Linked DNA regions of Homo sapiens: region 2 is linked to region 1. Evidence: promoter capture Hi-C in human tissues and cell types (Jung and others, 2019). All regions are on one chromosome and are shown on one strand. The core of a region is centred on a gene start or on the middle of the fragment in contact, and the rest is flanking DNA. Distances in the headings are between cores, read along the strand shown.

Region 1 (3,816 bases), core at 820-3,319:
ATGTACTGTCTTGGTTCATCTAGTTTAGCAAATTTACTCTCTAGAATATGAAATTCTATTGATTATATCAGCATCAAAAATATATAAAAGTGATTGAGAATGAGGCTTTAAGATAACCTCCTAATAATATGTATCTGATTAGGATATGCCACATCCCACTTTCCAACCCACATATCTATAAAGACAAAATCTGAATCACATGGAAAAGCAAGCTATTAGTAAACAATTTGCAGGAGTCTGAGAAAATTTATAACTATAGAGTAGATAACACTTCAGTTTTAAACATAATCAGTGACTTATACTCAACTTGTTCTCAGAAATGTCATCTTACAAGTTGGTATAATAACCCAGTTCAGAAATATGGAATATACAAGTTACAGGAAAGTGGTTAGGCATATTCAAATTTTTGCACCCAACCATGCTCTACCCTCTTAGCCACACTATGGGTATTATTTTCTGAGGCAGTCAAAATTGACTGCCACTCATTTTTCAAAATCTGTTCTATGACTGCAAGCTCTCAAAGACAGCAATGCAGAAAGGATAGGAGATTGAGTCCTGCATATGGACTCTTCCATAAATCAATGTGATGAAGGACAATATAATCTCTTATCTTGCTGAAAATTAGTGAGCAAGACCCATGTCATATTCATATTGTGCCCTACTTAGTGTCTCACTCATAATAAACACAACAAATACTTTACAAATGAAGAAGATGACTTCTATAAATCAGTGTGATCAAGGGCAGAGACACTAGCCCTGGTGATTGGAATTTCCCTGGAAGAACTACAACATGACTCCAATTATTTGAAAAATGAAATAGCTCACTAATATACAGGGAAGACTGAATATTAGAAGGCCCACATTAGACACATGCATTCTAGACCTAATTTGGGCCAGACATGTGCTCATTAGTGTATAATTCAACTTCAGATCTGGGGAAGGGGGTTGCAAGGTGGGGAAGGGCAGGGAATTCTTTTAGTCACATGTCCAATCCATACAGTACTCTCAGTCATTTGAAAACATAAAATCCAGGAAGGCAAGGCCAGCTTGCCTCTCCTTACCATCTGTTCACTCTCTCAGCTTCAGGGAACTTCAGGGAGCAGTTATACCGGGTACATCACAAATGTTTGACCTCAGCCACAAATGTTTGACCTCTGTGAATGCCACCAGCATCCAATAAATAGCTCAATATAGAGACCTAGGAATTATCTAAGACTCCTCCACTGCCCCAGGTTACATATCCAACCTTTATCGATCTTATCCATTTTACTTCCCAAATATCTCTCATTTTTCTCCATTTCCATTATTCCCACAGTAGTCCAAGCTAATGTCATCTTTCTCCAGTAATATGCCATCACTTGCTAACTGATCAAGCAATATCCACACTGCAAACCTCCTTCAGACGATCTATTCTGCCCTGCATAACCAGAGTGTCCCTTTCAAAATTCAAATCCAGTGTCACTACCCAAATCCCATCTCGAATTGTAACCCCCATGGTTTGGCTCTGTGTCCCCACCCAAATCCCATCTCGAATTGTAACCCCCATGTGTTGAGGAAGGGACCTGTAATCCCCAAATCTCAAGGGAAGGAGGTGACTGGATCATGTAAACAGTTTCCCCCATGCTGTTCTCATGACAGTGAGTGAGTTCTCATGAGATCTGATGGTTTATAAGTGTTTGACTGTTCCTCCTTCATAGGCTCTCTCTCGCCTGCCACCACGTAAGACATCCCTCCTTCCCCTTCTGACATGATTGTAAGTTTCCTGAGGCCTCACCAGCCATGCGGAACTGTGAGTCACCTAAATCTCTTTTCTGTATAAATGACCCAGTCTCAGGCAGTTCTTTACAGCAGTGTGAAAATGGACTAATATGCTACCCCATCTCCATCCCACTGCCATCCTCCCTAAAGCCCTACAGTAGATTGCTGTTACTCTTAGAATCAAGACCAGACTGCTTCCGGGGTCTATACCACCTTCTGTGGTTTTGTCCCCAGCTAGTTTACATCACATGCCCCTCCTCTTCCTTTCTCCATCACATTTCACATTTGCCATTTACTTTTTTTTTTTTTTCATTTCAACCTTCCTTTGCTTTTACCCTATCATGCTCCCTCACCCCACAAAGCTTTTGTACATTCTGCATCTCCTTCCTGGAACATTCTACCTCCCTCTGCATCTAGGTCTCTGCCTGAGCTCAGGTTCCCTAAAAAGCCTGGTCTGAGGCAATGACTAAAAAGGCTCCTATTTTGTTTAAGGACGTGCAAACTCATGGCAAGAAGGTGAGGAAAACAGCTACGGAGGGAAGGATGAGAAGCAATGCAAAGTGACATATACCATCCTGGCCACAGCTTCCCAAGTTGGGTCCTTTGCTGGGTGCACTCATGTGGCCATGAGGGACATCTCAGAGAGACTGCAGAGGTAAGCAAGATCTCTTTCCTGAAACAGTTTGTTCATCAGAAAAAGGGAGAAGAGGAAATGAATCTTCCTAGCTCTTTCAAGGTCTTTTTTCCTTATTACTCAATTCCCTGAACAGGGGGTTAATTCACTCAGTTTCAGATTGTGACTTCCAGCCTCATTATTTGGGAAGCCAGGCTGCAAACCATAGTACATTATTTTATCCAAACCTTGAAGTAATGGGGAAAACATTAAAAAAAAAAAAAAAAAAAAAAAAAAAAACAGAGACTCGGGTGCACAGCTGGTTAGATTGGCTGTAGGTGGCAGCCAAGGGGAGAGCCTGGCCTTCTGAGGTGCAGACTGGTCACGTTTAGGCAGGAGCATGGGTCAGCCAAGGCTGTGGCCTAATTAGAGGATACAGTGGAGCATTAAGTCAATGGCGATGCACTCTTAGAATGTGGCTACGCCCCTTGTAACCACTATGGTATTTACAACCATTCTAAGGACACAGAAAACTTGTTCATAGTATTAAGAAAAAATGGTATATAAAACTGTGTATAAAGTATGTTTCAATTATAATCTTTAATTCTGTTAGAATTCTTTTTTCCCAAGAGTATGCATTAACTTTACAGTTTTCTTAAAAAAAAAAATGGAAGAAAACAGTTTCCAAGAAGAAGGGTCAACAGATTCCACAGTATTGACTCAGGAAAGTGCAAGCATTGCAGGGACCAGGAACATCCAGGCTGGCAAGAAGCCAAAACAGGAGGGAGCGGGGAGGGGCGCAGCCCCGAAGCAATGTTAGGAGGCTCTGACCACTTTCCGAAGAACGTTGTATCTCCAAGGCCTTCGCTTCTCTATCTGTAAATTTCAAACAAGATCCCGGTGTGTGATGTTCCCCTTCCTGTGTCCATGTGTTCTCATTGTTCAATTCCCACCTAAGAGTGAGAACATGCCGTGTTTGGTTTTGTGTCCTTGCGATAGTTTGCTGAGAATGATGGTTTCCAGCTTCATCCATGTCCCTAAAAAGGACATGAACTCATCATTTTTTATGGCTGCATAGTATTCCATGGTGTATATGTGCCACATTTTCTTAATCCAGTCTATCATTGTTGGACATTTGGGTTGGTTCCAAGTCTTTGCTATTGTGAATAGTGCCGCAATGTTGTGGGGTGGGGGGAGGGGGGAGGGATAGCATTAGGAGATATACCTAATGTTAAATGATGAGTTAATGGGTGCAGCACACCCACATGGCACATGAATACATATGTAACAAACCTGCACGTTGTGCACATGTACCCTAAAACTTAAAGTATAATTTAAAAAAAGTTCAAACAAGATCTTCATTTGGGTATAATGAAGAGAAAGTGAGGACATGCATCTGAAAGCTGACTCAGAAACTCTGACGCTCTTCCTACATTTCCTAACTG
Region 2 (3,816 bases), core at 822-3,321, 1.9 Mb before region 1:
TGGTTTCTACAATGTCCAGGATAAATGGAATTCATTCACACCTGCTTTGGCAGAGTTCCAGATTTGGTAACACTCTGGGAGCAGTATTGAGCCCCCAAAGTATAGCATGAGTGTATGCTTGTGTTTGCAAGGAGGGACTGGGCGTGGGTGAGAGGGAATAACAGGCTCTGCTCTAGAAAACCAAGAAAGAGCCGCTGCTTTTGTTCAACATGAGCTGCTCCAAAGTCCAGGTAGATGAGGTATCCCAGACAGCTGCGCTTCTTCCCTCCTCTCTTTTCAAGGATTTAGCTCTGCCTGGGGCTTACAAAAAGGATTGGAAATTTTCAGGTGAACATATGTGGTTTAAGGAGAAACTTGCCTGCCAGGCAACCTGGGAGTCTTAATCTGATCAGACCTCACTCTTGTCCTGGCAGGTCTAGTCCCTGCCCTCGAGGCCTGGGCCTGGGCCCGGGCCCAGCTTCCATCCTTCACTTCAGTTCTGCAAATTCTCACTCCCACTCATGTTGGAAGGGAGAAAGCTAGTCCATCTCACAGAGTGAACCTCAGCAGAGGGTGCAAGAAGACCCTGCCTGGGAAGGCAGGCTGAGATACCAGCGTTTTGATGGGAAACATTTAAATATTTAGACATAGCATGCAACATAAGATGTAGGTCTAAATTAAGCATTGTAATTCCAAGTAAGATCATGGTATTTCCTTAAGGACTGTTTGCTGTCTAACTCTAGGTCTCATGTTTCCACTGGGGTTTAATCTGAGCATGATCCACAAATCCCAGGGAAACTGCTTTTCCAATCTGTTTAAGTATATTGGCTTTAGACTTGGGTATGTGGGCCCCTGCTCTTAAACAGTCCTGGATATCTCATGCACATATTATATGCAATTATTAAAGGATGTGTGAGCACCTGTTTTACTCAAGGTTTGGTTCCCAGAGAGTGCAGGAGGCACAGCACAACTCATGCATTCTCTCCTATTAATCTTGTCCTCAGACCCCAGGAAAAAGCTCCTTCACATCTCTCGCCTCATATCAGAAACAGTATGTTTCTGCTTCCCAGAACCAGGAAGTTTTATGGCAAGTGTGCCTGTCTGCTGACATCTGAAAGAACAAGCCTTAGAGTATGGGGCAGCTTGAGTGATAGAAGCCAATTACCTTAAAAGATGTTATCTTCCTACAAACTCCATACTGTTCCCGGATGCTCCACCACACTCAGATCATGTCAGTTAGGAGACACTAAAAGGCTTCTGCCTGCAAATTAAATCATTCATTCACAATATTTTATATGAAACTTGGCAAGATATATCTAAAATTGACATGGAAATGCAAAGACCCAAAAATAGCCAAAGCACTCTTAGAGAAAAATGTGGGAGGACTTGCACTGCCATATATAAAGCCAAGTTTCAAAGCATATGGTTCTGATGCAAGGGTAGATGACAGAACAGGGAAAAAATAGAGTGCTTCAAATAGCCCTGTGGAGATTTGGACACTTGATTTACAACAGAAATGTCACATCGAAGCAGTGGAGGAAAGGCAGTCCTTTCATAAATGGTGTGAAGACGAGAAGCTCCTCACAAACAAAACCCCAAAACTTTGAATGTTATTGCATATTGGACAGAAGAAGTCTGAAACCCACAGAGATTGAACATAGACATGCAAAACACACTCACAAACATATACGAACTAATCGATTAAACAGGCAAATAAATGAATTTAATTTAACTAATAGAATATGACCTCAGTCTAGAAAAATATTTAAGCAGCATACAAAACACACTCATCATAGAGAAAAAATTTACAAACAAAATGGCATTAAATGTAACATCTCTAAATGTAAACCAAAATTCGACATTAAAGAGGGGAAAAGATGTTATTCGCAACACATGTAATCACAAAGACTTATTTTGAGAATATACAGATAACTTCGTGTAAACAAGAAAGAGAGAAAACTCATGAGAACATAAGCTAAAGCTCCAAACAGGTGTAAGTTAACATATACAAGACACAAAGTGGGATATTCTAATGATTTAAATGGTCAGTATACATAAAGAAATGTGCTTCACCTTATCAGTAACCAAGGAAATACAAATTAAACAGTAATAAAATTTATTATAACATCCATAAGAATGGCTAGAATTTAAAGAACCAGGGGATGGCACACAAGGAGAAATCATAAAATTCTCATATATTGATAGTAGATATATAAATTGTTATAATCATTGCAGAAGATAGGAACTCTTGATTAATTTTAAGATGCATATGTCATATGACTAAGCAATTTATTCCTCAAGGTATACAATTAAAAATATTCTGACACACGTTAAAAAAGTTAGGAAGACATTATTCAAGACTGCTGTGAAGGGAAAAGAGATTGGGCTCCTGATAGAGGAGAGATATCTGAGGATTTATATCAAAGAGCAGAGTGAGGCAGTCAGTGGATAGAAAATTACTAAGGGTAGGGGGATTCTTGATAAACTGACCTAAGAGGTTTCTTGCAAAAGGCAAGCCAAGGACTTAAACATAAAACGTGGTCAGATATCAAGGGTGGGAGGGTTCTCAAACTGGCTTAGCGGAATACTGGCTAATACTGTACTAAGGAGGCTGAGGGCAGGATGGGGCCAAGGTGGAAGCCTTATTGAGAAGAGGGCTCAAAGGAGCCTGACTGAAGTTTGGTTAAGAAGAGAGTCTGTCAATACTCAACAAAAATATAGGTGTATGTGTTCCAGGAGAGATATAATGTGAATGTTCATAGGGTCATTATTCATAATTGACATAATTTCAAAATAATCTAAATGTTGATCAGCAGAAGCATGAATAAATAGAATGTGGTATATTTACACAATAAAATACTTTGAAATGCATGACATATAATTATACAACATAATACAAATGAATTCAAAAGCATCATGTTTAATGTGAACAAATGATGAAAGGCAAAATGTATATATATATATGTGTGTGATTCCAATTCTATGAAATTAACCACAGTTATACTATAATATGTAGGAATGTAAACTTGGGTGGTGAAAAGGCAAACAATGAATTGATGCCATAATATTCAGATAAGTAGTCATTTTTTAGAGGTTAAAGGGAGGGTTATGATAGAAACAAACCTCTGAGGGTATGCTGGCTTTCTGTCAATATTCTAGTCCTTGCTCTGGGTAGTAGTTATGTATGTGTTTGCAATGGAATAAGTCAATAGCTGAATAGTTTTCCTTAATATATTTTTGGCATGAGTTAGTATTTTATAATAAAAAGAGTTGACACCTCTGTTCAACTGAATTTTTAAGCATTTTTATAAAGTATAATATTTAGAGTTGAGTTTCCTGTTAGCTTTTAAGAACATTTCTAGTCATTTTTCATATAAAAATCAGAAATATCATTAATTATAATGTCACCCATGCCATTTTTTCCTACTATTTTTTCTTGTATATATATATATATTATGCTATAATTTGGAAAAAAGTAGTTGCACTGCTATAATCATATCTTCTTTTGAAAAAGGAGAATAAAACTCCAGTTTTCATATTTCTTTTCAGAAGTGTTAATTATTGATCTATTTAAATTTCAAAATACTTTATTTTTATTGTCCCCTAAATTCTCCATTTCCTTAATGCAAGACCAACTTTGCATTAAGACTCAGAGACTAAATGACTAAGCCTTGGAGACAAACATAATATGACCAAAAATCTTCATGTCAATCAATTTAGTGGTTCTGGGAAGGCCTTGAAAAAAATTGAGTAGACTTATTTTTTTATGACTAGTTTTTTGTTTTATTTTGTTTTTGTTTTTTGTTTTTTGTTTTTTGCGAGACGGAGTCTCGCTCT

The links. The method cuts DNA at HindIII sites, captures the fragments that hold promoters and counts their contacts. A contact is called where the count stands out against the background at its distance.
Region 2: a fragment that was not itself captured here is called in contact with the fragment with the promoter of GTSCR1 in region 1 in 1 of the 25 tissues and cell types used here (dorsolateral prefrontal cortex).

The regions. Positions count from the first base shown.
Region 1 is chr18:70,649,207-70,653,022 of GRCh38, reverse strand. GTSCR1 (Gilles de la Tourette syndrome chromosome region, candidate 1) reads left to right here and starts at 2,069. Exons shown (of 3, transcript NR_160904.1): 1 at 2,069-2,413. The HindIII fragment of the contact is 9,016 bases long and covers 1-3,816 here.
Region 2 is chr18:72,579,714-72,583,529 of GRCh38, reverse strand. It overlaps a transcript of CBLN2 not described here. Among named protein-coding and RNA genes, the nearest start is that of CBLN2, 37 kb to the right of the region's middle. The HindIII fragment of the contact is 5,810 bases long and covers 1-3,816 here.